Regions from separate parts of the Homo sapiens genome. Here region 2 is linked to region 1. The links are contacts of gene promoters, found by promoter capture Hi-C in blood cells and fetal thymus (Javierre and others, 2016). All regions are on one chromosome and are shown on one strand. Each heading gives the region's core, a stretch centred on a gene start or on the middle of the fragment in contact. The rest is flanking DNA. Distances are from core to core; before and after follow the strand shown. Region 1 holds the start of EML6 (EMAP like 6). Region 2 overlaps EML6 (EMAP like 6).

Evidence for each region. Contacts are between HindIII fragments. The CHiCAGO score rates a contact against its expected background, and 5 or more counts as called.
Region 2: a contact is called between a fragment that was not itself captured here and the fragment with the promoter of EML6 in region 1, in 1 of 17 cell types (endothelial precursors). The highest score is 5.8, in endothelial precursors.

Annotation. Positions count from the first base shown.
Region 1 is chr2:54,720,729-54,727,587 of GRCh38, reverse strand. It overlaps EML6 (EMAP like 6), which reads right to left and starts at 3,926. Exons shown (of 42, transcript NM_001039753.4): 1 at 3,811-3,926; 2 at 2,330-3,039. The coding sequence starts at 2,526. RefSeq lists silencers at 2,723-2,872, 3,544-4,033 and an enhancer at 4,174-4,393. The HindIII fragment of the contact is 5,681 bases long and covers 1-4,463 here.
Region 2 is chr2:54,830,507-54,837,365 of GRCh38, reverse strand. All of the region lies in intron 7 of EML6 (EMAP like 6), which reads right to left. Among named protein-coding and RNA genes, the nearest start is that of EML6-AS1, 83 kb to the right of the region's middle. The HindIII fragment of the contact is 1,438 bases long and covers 3,039-4,476 here.

The DNA.
Region 1 (6,859 bases), core at 2,677-5,176:
TTCAGGTGGAAGAATAGTAGTAACCGGGATACACAGAAACGAATTAAAATTCATAAGGACAAAAAATTGTGCATTGTGGTTTGTGCAGTGTCTTCACCAGAAAAAGATATTTACATATGTAAGACAAAGCAAAAGAACAGCATAAACATTCCAATTTCATAGCTCTTAATTCCATAATAATCTGTGGTTTGTGTTTCTTAATTCATTGAACTTAATTTTATTCTTGTGTACAAAGACATATTTGGATGTTAAGGAACTCTGCTCTGCTCTGCTCACCTATACATACTCTGACCCAACCAAATATTGTGGAGAATTATGAATACAGTCCTTCCTCTGAAATCAGGCTTACTACTATGTCACTAAAGTAGCTTAATGAATAGATCAGATGCTAACTGTCTCTTTTTCCCTTCATCAGTTAAGGCTCCCTGCAAACCCAGTTATACACATCACTTCATTCACCTTTTCTTCAAATCTGAATGTTTCCTTAACCACCCAAGCTAGATTTCATCACATCCCACTAGCCCGGCTGCTTGTCATAACAACGGTTTACTGCAACTCCACCCTTTTCCCACCTTCAGCTTCAACAGTGCATTTGGTTTTTTTCCTTGTATCAGAGAAAAAATTAGGATTAGGAGTTCAAATCCACAAAGTAGTTCAGTGAACTGTCACATTAATATTATTTAACCACAGAGAATTTTCTGTTTAATTGCCACTCTCTCCCTTCACCCAAAGGACTACATCTTATTTTGATGCTGTAATGGAAAGCACTGCATTAAGACAGAGAGAGCAAAAACATAATGGGTTTAAATTTTTAAACATCTAACCTTTTCATGAGTCATTGTTAATCATTTGCACCTGTAACTTTCATAATCAGCCTAGCAATTAGAGAAGCAAAATCTGCAGAACAAAACTATGTAAGGATGCCCCAAGCACAACAACTACCATGTTAGGGAGGGAAGAAAAAAAGCTATTTGTGTCATACGTGACATGAAAAAAGTTTTACATGCTAGTTCCACTAAATCTTGAGAACATTAGCACTCCCATCTTCAAAAAAAGTCAAGATTTTTTAAAATCTGTAGTTTGAATATTAAGTGCTTGCCTTCTGTAACAATTTTTCAACTTTAGGTCTCAGAAAAAAAAAAGGCTCTGGAATATAAGCACATCATTAGGAAGGGAAAAAAAAGCTGATCTTTGAAATCATTCTCTGCACTGAGAAATTAGGAGCATGGACATGACATCACTTCATTTATTTCATTGTGAAAGACAAACTTAGAGCAAAAGTGGCAATATTCTGAGAATGTAATGGTAGTTGTTCTACATCAATGAAACACACAAGTTTGGAAGGTATAAATATGGTCTCTGTCAGTTGTAGTCCATCCTCAGCAAGTCATTTTCCCTGTGGGCTGAGGCTCCCATATGACGAAAATCTTCCTTAACTGCTGAAGGCTGAAAAGGATTCCCTGTGAACAGCATCTGGCCCATACCTTGTTTGCTCACATAAAAGCTGACAAGGGCTGGAGGAAAATGTGTCTGGTCCAAAGATGAGAGGATAGGGCCAAGAATCACAATATAACCCCTTTCCATTTAATCGGGAGGGCCCCTAAAACGGCCATTCATCCAAATGAGCTCTCCTGTCAGTCAGTCTTGGGCCATCCGCTAGCAGATGTTGGTCATTGTGTGGGCTGGCTGGTAGGATTTTGTGATCCAGCAGCTGCCAGCCTTTAATAACCTCAATGATGCTGTGGAAGCATCCATTTAGTGTATAAATATGCTTTGGGCATTAAAACACTGCCAAGTGAAATATTAGAGAACAAACTCCCCACCCACTGCAGAAATTTCCCAGGTCCAAAGCATCTGAGATGAAGATTCCAAATTACCAGTAGTAAAATTTCTTTTAGATCTTTTTTAATCCTCTTGCTTACTGAGAAACCCACTGAGGAGCCTCCCAAAGATGATGCCCACACTTCAGGTTATTGGTCCTACCGTGCACCTGGTTAGGGAAGGAAGAAGTGTTTCATAGTTACCCAGGCTCCTTCCACTTGTAGCAGGAAAGAACAGCAAGAAAGCATCAGAACACTCAACTCCTTGGAGATTTAAAAGCCAGAATTCCGGAGGGATACAGCGAAAAGACATCTCTCCCTCCTCACCTACACTCCCCACACTGTTTCTGCCCTGGCCCTAGAATCAGCAGCCCTTCAGTAATTCCATGCGGCTCCAGAGAGAATCCTCTATTCCACGGGGCTCCCGGATCCGACCCCAGGTCAACCGCTTCCCACCTTCCCAGCCTCCACACGCAACCCCTCCCCGCCGCCCCTGGCCACCCCCTTACCTGATAATGTCGTCGTTGTGTCCCAGGAAGAATTTTTGGCTGTGCTCGCGGGTGTTGTAAACCACCCCGACCCCAGCCACAAAGTAGACCACCTCCTTGCCTGCCGTGTAGTACAGGTTGTTGCGGCACTGGTGACCCCGGTACCCGTACACCCACTCCAGCCGGAGCTGGCAGCGGGGCGCCGTCCGATCCGCCATGATAAGCCGACCCCGCGCGCCCCCCGCCCCCCCGCGCGCCGGGGCCGTCCTCGCCGAGGCTGGGGCTGCGGCGGACCTGCAGGGGCTCAGCGCGCGGCGCAGGGCGCTGATTTCCGCGGCGACACACAGGCACAGCCCAGCGGGCCGGCCGCCACCATCATCCGCTGCAGCCGCCGCAGACAAGCCGCCGCCGCCGGTGTGCGGCCGCCAGACCCCGCCGGGCGCCGGGCTCCCTCTACCCGGGCAAGGCGGCTCTGGGGGCGCCGGCACCGGCGCGCGCGCCTCACTGCACCTGCGGGCTCCGGCCCCCGGGAGAGGCTCTCGGGGGGGCCACCCCGCCTTTTACATCAGGAATCTGCATATCCCAACAGCGATCACCCAGTTCGCTCACTGAAGTTTGCGGTGCGCCGGGGCTTCGCGGCAGGCGGCGGGATTTATTCTGCGATAGCCTTGATTTGACAGGCAACCCGGGTGAGCTCTGCCATCGCCGTCTTTGGATCCGAAATTGACAGTCTATATCCAGGAAGCGAGAGCGAGGAAGAAAGAAACAGATTTTTCGCATAAGTCACCCAATCCAAGAAAATTATCCCCAAACTAAACCAAGTTGGGTATTTTTAAAAATTGTCCCCTACTCCCGCTTTCTCTCTCCAGTTCCATCTCCTTAATGATATGAAATATGCGTAAATGCTGCTGCCTGGCAGTTGCTGATGCGATTTGAAGGAACGCTTGCTGTTTCCCTAATAAGCGAGGGCGAATATGCAATGGTCATTTTTTAGATGCTCCAATTAGTTTTCATGTGTGTGTTTAATAATCATATCCTCCGTGAACCTTCTCTTCACCGAGAAAGCCATAAAGAACTTAGCAGCTCTCATTGATCAGCAACTCCAATCCGCATCATGAAAGATTGTCTTACTCGGAAGAAACGAGGCACTAGTGCAGTCGGAGGGAGTGCGCTACCTACAAACGCTCCTGGTCGAGGAGAAATCAAATAACAAGTGGCAAAAATCGTGTACTTCTCCCCAGAAACCTCTGCGCTAAACACCGGGTCCCACGGAATCCCGGGTCCTGCCCTGAGCCCAGCGTGGAGAGGGGTCGCCCGAGGGACCCGGGGGACAGCAACCCCCCACAGACGCACACGTCCCGGGGGTCGGCGCGCTGCGCGAGGGATGCCCGCCCTCAGGACTGTTCGGCCCGCGCGCACTGCCGCCCTGGCGGCGCCCTGCACTCCTCCCACTCTCGAACCAGCCTCGCCCGCGGAGCATCCGCGCGCTCTCTGCCTCTAACCTCTGCTGCCAGCGGACGCCACCGGCGCGTCCCGGATCCCGCGCGGGCGAGCGAGCGAAATCCTCTGCCTGCCCTCCCCTCCCCGCCTCCCGCACCCGGGGATGGACTTCGTCACTGGGGCGCCGCGGGAGACAGGTTCTTCCTCCAGCCGGGGCTCCGGGGGCGGGGCCACAACGCCGCGCTAGTGAACCTCAGCTGCCGGTTACTAGGCGAGATCTCGCCGCTTGGAAACAGCGACGCCCCGGAGGACTGGGGCCGCCCCCTCCCTCTGCCTGTCCCTGTGGCCTCTTCCCCCGACGCATCCTGGGAAGTGTAGTCCTCTCTGCGCCGGTTAGGGCGGACAGCGCGCGGAAGGGACCACAAGTCCCAGGATTCCGCGCGCCCAGAGGGAGTCGCAGCGAGACCTGTACCGGCGTCAGCGGAGCCTGCGGCTCTCGGGGTGAGGAGATCCCGGCTCACCAAGGACGATTGCCTGCCCACGCGGGCGTTCCCTTGTGACTGAGGCGGGAGCTGGCGTGCGTGGGTCTCTGTAGAGAAAAGCGGTGGAGTTGGAATGGAGACGGTCTCCCAGCCCACCACTGGAATTTCTCCTTCATCGGTCTCTGAGTGTTGCTGTAACCGACATCCTCACCATGCTGTAACTGACTCAAGCTTAAGTTTGTTTCCTACTTAAGTTTTCCTTTTCATTCACATGGATTTTAATTTGTTAAAGTGCAGTTCTGCCAAGTTTAAGAAAAATGCTGGGAATGTGAGCTCACTTCTGCCCTAAGAACCAGCGTCTTCCCATGACCTGCGTCCTAAATTAGAGGACTTGGGTATTTACAGATAACCGGAGGTTGGAAGCAGGAAGGTGCTCACGCCATGAACAGCTAACCTTGGCCTTCAAACGCAGAAGCTGGTGGCATTTCTCCTAAAACTGCCCGAGATGAACTATGAATCCACTGTGTTCTCAAGTAGCCTATTTCCAATTTAGGGCCATAGCTAGTCTTTGGAAAGAGATTTCAAAATCCCAGTGACTAAGAGGCTGCAAAAGGATGATGGATTGGACGTTTGGAACGTCCTTTCCCTCCCATGCTTTCAGTGTAATCGCTTACTCAGTTCATCTCCCTCAAGTTTTAAGACAACCCTCCGACCTGGTAGGAAAGCTCGAAAGAACTGGAAGTGCCAGAGTTTGGATGATTTGTTGCTGCCCGCAGTAATGAGGATTTGAATTGGTCTCATCTTTGTTTTTAAGGAAACAGAATCAACAAATAAGTGAGATGGCACTGTGCTAGGCAACAAGAACACTGCCAAAAACAAAAACACGGCCTGAGAAAGGTTTGAGATAGAAGCAAAAATATAGTTGATCAATGATGTCGTGCCATAAAACAGTGCCAAATGAATTATATAAAGACAGTAAGTTTTTGTTGTTCTTTTTGTTTTGTTTTGTTTTGAGACAAAACAGGCCGTTGCCCAGGCTAGAATATCGTGATCTTGGCTCACTGCAACCTCCGCCTCCTGGGTTCAAACGATTATCCTGCCTCAGCCTCCTGTGTAGCTGGGATTACAGATACGCACCACCACGCCCAGCTAATTTTTGTATTTTTAGTAGAGACAGGGTTTCGCCCTGTTGGCCAGGCTGGTCTCCAACTCCCGACCTCAGGTGTTCTGCCCGCCTCGGCTTCCCAAATTGCTGGGATTACAGGCATGAGCCACTGTGCCTGGCCAGTAAGTTCTATATAAGAATTCAGAAGAGGAAGAGTTTTTCCAGATAAAATACATCAGGAAAAGTTTCATGGAGGAACTAGGAAATATAGATAGAATTGAGATAAGTAAAGATAAATTGAAAGAGCGTTCTACATGCGTTTAGGGAATAAACAAAAGTGTAGATGCAGAAAAGTGGATTTAGAGAACACTAAAGAGAATACCCAGTTTGGTGCAAGGGAGAATTCATATAAGATCAAGAGGACACATGAAAGGTTAGATTGTAGATGGAGCTCAGCATAGGGGTTTGCGCTGTATCCTTAAAATAATGGAGTCATTGATTTTTTGAATAAAAATAAGGGAATAGCAATGAAAGCAGTAATCAAAGCATGAGGTATTAGAAGTCTGGGGTAGTGCTTGAGGCTGCGTTAGAGATAGTGGCAGTGGTCTAGAAAGGAAGAGACACTTTCCAGAGAAAATGTACAAATGTATTGAAAAGAAGTCTCTTAAATAGAAATGGATGGAACATATTCATTTCCTAAATTATCTTTAGTATAACTAATGACCCCCATGCTGTACCAGACTGTTAAATGAGTTGGAGGAGTAAGTCTGAGTCAGCCACTTACAATTGTAACCTTAGGCAAATCACTAAATCCTCTGATCTTTACTCTCCTCATTTAATAAAGTATAGCAGTACTCACCCCACAGGATAATTGTAAGAATGAAACAAAGTAATACATACGTGAAAAGTTAATTTGTAAAGCATTAGATAAATGTTAATTATTACTATATGGCAGTAGATAGTAACCTCTACTTGAAAGTGTCAAATAAGACTGGTAGTGTCCTTTGGAAATAAGCAGTATTAAAAAGCATGAGTAAAACTCATAATATAATAACATTATGTTGTTGTAATGAATAGCAGTTACTATGTTCCAGGCACTATAAATGGTGCTTTACGTGTATCAGATAATTTGATCTTCACCCCAGTAATAATCCTATGAAGTAGTTACTGTTATTTCCTCATTTTACAGATGAAGAAATGAAGGTAAGGAAAGTTTAAGTAACTTGCCCAGGAATGCACAAAATAGTGACAAAGCCTGGATTTGAACTCAGGCAGTCTGACTCCAGACGCTGCTCTTAAATGCTAAGAATGATGAAAGAAATTGTTTAGATGGTAGAGTAAGTTCACCTGTAAATGAAACCCAAAATAGCCATGATTTAAACTTGATAGAATTTTATTTCTCACAAAAACCTGGAGGTAGTACAGGCCTAGAATGATGGCTCTGCTTAAAGGAATCCTTGAGTACTCAGGCTACTGGCAGCATGCCAGCATTCTGCTCTGCTGTCCCTAGACCTCATGGTCCAA
Region 2 (6,859 bases), core at 2,508-5,007, 110 kb before region 1:
ATAACAGCATAGAAAGTTTGTATTACTTGCCTCAAGTCACAGAGCAAGCTAGCAATAGGGGGAAAAAAAATGAGGATTCAGGCAGTTCAAGTGTGGAGTTAATACCCTTCCCCACAAAGTTATTTCCTGTATCTGTGAATGTATGCCCAGGACATGGTACTGAAGGTGAAACAAGACAAGGTTGTGGCTGTCTCCTGTAAACCTAACCTTATTAAGGATGCAAAACCAGGGAATGCCTTGAGTGCAAGAGGTTAAAAGGTAATAAGAACAAGAGAGAGAGGAAGAGTAATTTCACCCAAACTTAAGAGGGAGTATTGGTAGAGGGTGTGGAAAAGACAGCAGAGATCTTCAAAACCCCCCGCCCTTGCAGCCCCTCAGGAAGGGGTGGCTGAGGCCACCTAGGGAGCCTGGATCCTGGGCACAGGAGCTCTGGGCCTTGCAGGGACTTCTGATGTTCTAAGGGTAATGCTGAAGACAGAGTTTGGAAATGTGAAAGAAATGAAGGAGGAAAGACATGCATCTCCCCAGGGATTCATAAACACCAATGATTTTGGAGCCCAGTGCAAAACAGAAGTGTGGGGCCCCTTGCTAAAAAACGATTAGGAATTCCAAGCAAGTGACAGCAAAGCATGCAACCAACCGCAGGGCCCTCCTGAGTACCAGGCCCTGTGTGACTGCCCAGACCTCAGCCTGAGAAGCCTCCCTGCCAGGGGACCCCCAGGGGAGTTTGAGGATTAAATGGGATCCTGTGTGTAGAGTGTGTACCACAAAGGCCACCACAGAGTGGGCATTCAGCACTGACCCTGAGCTGGGAGAGTCGCAGGGCTGGGGCTGCAGGTCATCCTAAGCGTGGACTGCCTATGACCTGCTGCTCCTGTTCACAAAGGCTCCCTGCCTGAGAATCTCCAGCAGAATTCATAGGAAAGATTTCTTTTTACAAAATCTCTGCTCATTTCAAAACCCACTCCGCAGGATCCAAAATTCTACAGCCACGGGAACTGTGAAAGATACACAAAGCCTAGTGAGATATCAGAAGATGAGAACACATAGCCAAGCCCATGGCCTCCCACCCAGGGAGGAAACCCACCCAGGCTAGCTTTTACATAAGGCTGGCTAAGGAGAGTTATTTACAGAGGAATTACTACAAGCCAGGCCAGCAGCCCTCTGACACCATGTCACACACGGAACTTGCGCACACAGTGACACCACATCTCCTGGCTGCAAATCTGTCTCCAGCTCCTGAGGCTCGGGCCTCTGCAGTGTTCTTCTACCTTCTCAGCAGAACAGTGAGGCTGAAGGGCAAGCCCAGAGAAAAATGGTGGGCACACAGGGAGAGCGGTGACAGAGGCAAGGAGTCAAGAGGTAAGTAATGGAGCCGCCCGCGGGACTGGAGAATAGGATGTGCTTATTTTGCTTCTATCGTAAACAAGGGTGTTCTCAGGTTTGAGAGTTGGTCTTTTGGACGTTCTCTGCAAGGGATCTTAACAACAACACTATCAACATTTGGGGCTGGGTAATTCTTTGTTGTGGTGGCTCTCCTGTCCACTGTAATACTTTTAGCAGCTTCCCTGGCCTCTATCCATAGATGCCAGTCGCAACTCTGCAGTTGCGACAATCAAAAATGTCTCCAGACACTGCCAAATGTCCAAAAAATCACTCCTGGTTGAGAGCTGCTAGACTATCTGACCATCGCAGTACTCAGAGGAGTAAAAACAGTAATAAGCATGAACACTCTGGAACAACCACCTGGGCTCCTACCTCTGATCCTATCCTACCCCAGTCTGCTCTCTGCTCTGGGGCAGGAGAACTAAGTGGAGATCCGATTATGCCACATGCCTGCCTAAACCTCTAAGACCTCCTGTAGTTGGCCCTTGGAGTGCAAGCTTGCATGTCACAGGTTGACACAAAGAAACCAAGTTATCTGTTCCTCCTTCTGCATCCTCATCACTTGCGCTCCTCCACAAGGCTCCACCCTCCAGTCCTATGACACTTTTCATTCACCTGACAGCTACTTCCAGGACTCCAGCACACACTAGGCACGTCCTAAGTGGGTGGGAGGCATCAGTGAACAAAGATCCCTACCTTTGTGGAAACAGACAATAGCCAAGAACATAACACAGAAATTATACTGTATGTTACAAGGTGAAAGGTAAACCCGGGAGAAGGGGATTTGGAATACTTGGAGTGGTAGAGGCAGAATGAGTTGCAATTCTAGAAGAGATCATCAGCATAGGCTTTATTTGAGCAAAGGTTTGAAGGAGAGGAGGGAAGTAGTCATGCAGATTCTAGGCAAGAGTGTCACAGGCAGAGGGAGAAGCAGCGAGGGGAAGGAGCAGCCAGGGCGAAGCAGCGCAATGCGGAGGGTGGTGGCTGCCATAAGGACTTTGACTGTGGGTAAGATGAATCATTGCAGGGTTTTGAGGAAAGCAATTATGTGATCTGGCTCACATAAAGTTCAAATAATCCCTCTAGCTGCTGTGCAGAGGATGGTGGTCGAAGCAGGAATGCAACTTACAAAGCAACTGCAATATTCTATGTAAAAGATGGTGGTGGCCTGACCAGAGAAGGTTCAGTGGAGATAGTGACAAGTCTAAGCAGGGCATCTCATGTCCTGGAACTTTGGCCTCTAATTCTTGCTCAGTGATTCACCTAATGCAGGTTCTTTCTGGATGCGGAGTTTATAGTCCATTAGACACAGCAACAACTCAATAAATATGTGTTGGTAGTTAAAACCCACAGAACTCCCCCGACCTCCACTCACACCTAAAATATAATCTTGACTGAAGTATACTTTTCAGGACTTCCTATTCAGTTCCTAGGCACGTATCTGGCACTTGGATGTTTAATAAATGTTTACTGAGTGGACAAATAAGTAAATAATACATCTTATACTGTGTGAATAATTACTGTATTCCTTTAGACAGAATCATTTATAACCATTAACCCAAAGTGTTTTATTATCCTAGAAGTAATTCATTTTGGTTGATGGACTTTAAGAATTTTGGCTTTTCTTGCCACCACTATAAGTTACTCAAGCTTCATTATTTTACCCAGATCATAAATGTGTTTTAAAAGTGATCAGACTCAGCATGCACTGTTGTGAAGTTTGGTGTGAGGTATGAGTGAGTGACTTCAGTTTACAATTAGCTTGATGCTAATGACCCTGGGCCTCATTGTACCATCCATGAAGTGAGGGAGTTCTCCCCATGCCCCGCCACCGCCGCCTTACATCCAGGGTGTCTCCCAGCCTGAAAATTCCAGAATTTTATATTCACTAAGATGTATATTGGAGGACAACCACCCCATACAGCTGAAATCCTTTGGTGCCAGATGCATTTTGGAATTCAGAAAAATGTGGATTTTGGACTTGTAATATATCCAGCAGAAACTGAGGCAGCATCTTGAAATTAAATATTTCTATAACAAAATATATAAAGACACCCAGTAGCCTCATATCAGGTCAAGTTTTGCTGCCGAATTAGTTATTTAGAAAATCTTCTGGTATTCTGAACCTTTTGGCTTTGAGAATTGCAGATGAAGGATCCTGGGTGAATTAGGTTGTTGGTTTATATCATCTTGTGTTGTTGTTGCTACAGAAACTTGTTTGAACACCCAGTCAGCAAAAATGCAATAACTCACAAAAGATGCACAAGTCACCGGTGCAAATAAAACTCTACAATTCCCTTTCACTGAGGGATGGCCCTCCTCATCATGTGAGTGACATTTTCTTTGACTAACCCTTGGGGAGAAGGGAGGGAGCCCTGAGAATCAGATCTGACACTAACCAATTCTTGATGTGAATGTGACCCATCTCCAATCATTCACGCTTAACCTAAAGTGGGGTTAATTGTTTTTACTGTAAGTCAAGTGTCCTAATTAGCTCAAGCTACTACAAAGATGTAAAAGAATTAATAATGTCACTTTATTACAAAGCCATATCATTTTTTTCTGAGCTTAGTATCCATCTTAGTTCATTTTAAAACTTCTTTCTTGATGGCTAACAGTTAATAGTTATTAGAAGATGCAAATGTATGCCAATCTTGCAAAGATTTCCATTAAACAACTTGGAAATTGTCAGATTCATTTTGTAAATCTTATAGATGTCTACAGGAGGAGCAACAGAAGTCTTTACAGGTGGCACACTAAGTGTGATCTTTATAAATACCCTCAGATTCCTAAACACTAGTAAGCAGCAATTTCTTAATTTTTGCTAATACTTTTAAATTTATAGAACATAGAAAAGTACCCATACCATGTCATGGGAACTGGGCCGTGGCCATGATTAATTCTCTTGCTAAATTTGTTTAGAAAACTATTTGGCTGTTTGAGTAAGATGAGAAATCGCTACATTTCCATTGAAATGAATTCGAGTGTCGCTGTTTCACAAATAGCAAAAATACAGAAGAAAGCTCATTTATATCAAGATAGTTCTTATAAAAATAAAACTGTCATGTCCAAACTGAGAACAAGGAAGCTTCATGTCCAAACTGAGGGCAAGGAAGTCTAACACTGCTCTGCCTGAATCTGTTCCTTTCGAATATACTTGGTTTGTTTGAGGCAAAGAGAGGTGGAGCAGAAGGCCAAGCCTTCTTTGAGGGAAGGGATGAGGGGTTGGCGGGGGGGTGGGGAGGACAGGACACCTGACCATCTTCTGTCCACTCTGCTTTCTTTTGCTCTTTTCCCACCCTCTTTCCTTCCCTTTTATTTGCTCAGCTCTTTGCTAATGTTGAAACAACCAAGGGTATGGTATTGCCTGGCTGAAGGGGGAGCTACGCCAGAAAGCTATTTACATCTTGATTACTTTTATCTCCTCAAATCCTATGTATTTTAATTCCTACACTTGTGTTGGGTCTTCTACCTCACTTTGGATTTGGGGCACACCTCCACTTGCCTTGGAGAGGCTGCCCCATCACAGGATGGCCCAGGCAGCCAGCCTCCAAGACCACAGGAGGGCCGGTTCTGAGAGTCTCTCCCTGTTCGGAGCTATGGAAGGTGGCTCTGGAACTCAACATCCTCCTTCCTTGCTTCAGTGCAATAATGGCACCAAGGCCTGGCTGAGCGCAACAGAGCACCTTAGAGAGGGATTCAGAGCAAGTTTCCCCACATGACCCTGTCCATGCAGGCTCAAGAACTCCCTAAGTTGGAAGCAATGGGTGGGCCAGACTTTAGTTGTTACCAGTAATTCAAACCAGGAGCCTTTCTTCTTTTGATGCTACATGTACATTGTTTTTTCACTGAGGACTGGAATGAAGGCATCTCTTTTGATGCTTGATGATACACAGTGGCCTTTTGTGACAATGTTGCCCAAGCCAGGGGGAGAGGATAATTTTAGGTGGGTGCTCCAAGGGCAAAAATTAAACCCCAGCATATTAAACTCATGTCACAAATATTAGTTTAAAGCAAAGTTTTAAAAAGATATATTAATCAGTTTAAAGTAAAATACTAAGCAATTAAGAGTACTGGTCGTCAGCAGCAATTCTAAAATTAACATCATCCACAGCATCCACACTGTGGGGCTGCATGCTAAGCAGTGCCATCTCCACTCTCCCAGGAGCTCCATCCCAGCCCCTGTGCCCTCTCCGACTCCCTGGGACTCAAACTGGAACATGATCTATACCATCCTTTAAAAGCACAATCTGTTTCTCCCTACAAAATGCAGGCTACCGCCTTATCAGTAAGCCATCTAAGATGCACACCAATCCCTGGTCAACGCCAAGCCCAGGCACCACAGGGCAGGCACATCCTATGAGGTGCAGGCTTGTTTCGGGTTCCCAGTGTCCACCGTGTACCAGCCAGATGTGCTTTGATCTTGGTAAGGATGGGGCGGGAATCTGAGACTGATGTATAACGGAGGGCGTCGCTGACTGTCCTAACTCTGTAGATGGGAGTTGGCTGTGGGGCTGATGTGATCAGTACCACACCTGGTTACACAGATCCTCATTCAGAACTGGTCCCTGAACTCTCCCAGGAGAGCCAGGCTCAAGGACTCAGTATTGGGCAGAAAAGTATAGCAGCGTAAACCAATGGCTTCTTAGCTGATCCCCATGCTTTAAAATTTATGCCTTAATTATGTGATACAATTTTTGGATTAGTTAAATGGAGTAACTGCCAAAAAGAGTCATGAATCCTGGTTGGTACTCCCCAACGTTTAGGCAGTTTATGGTCACTAATCCCATCTGGCAAGTTGACTCTGCTCTCTAAGTACATGTTTTGGTTTCTGGTTTACCTTGAAAGATATACCAAGAAGTTTCATGGTTCAGGACCAAACATTTTTGGCTACTGTACTTAAAAAAAATTGCTCTTACGGGTACTTGCAAGCTTATATCTGTTTGGCATGTTTTTTCCGGATCAAGTTTCCCTGGCCCACACTCTATGGCAGAGAACTTAAGGCCTTCGATCTCCTTGTCCCTACATTGAGGTAGACACCAAATTCCACAACTTCCTATGCCAAACTCTGTGCCTAGTATTCAGAAACGTATGCACACCAGCATCCTGAGCCTCCGTGAGAAGACAAGAGTCCAATCCTGGATTAGTTGACTTAGATGCACATTTTTGTATTTCACAGATACATAAAGCAGCTGGCATCCAGGTATAAACAGGAAGTACAATATCCAGCTCATTTCCCTGTTGCTCAACTGTTGGCAAAGTTTTGCTGCAAACAACACTATTTAAGGATGGCCTGAAGGATATGCCGTCTAGGCTGTTTTCTCCCAGTCCTTTGAAATCTACCTAAGGCCGGCAGAGAGCACCGCGCACTGCCACATGATCTGGCCTATGGAACAACCTCTGTGGCAGCATCGCCATCAGGTCACACAGCGGGGGCTTCATGAGGAACAGCCCAGGAGAAACAACTCGTTTC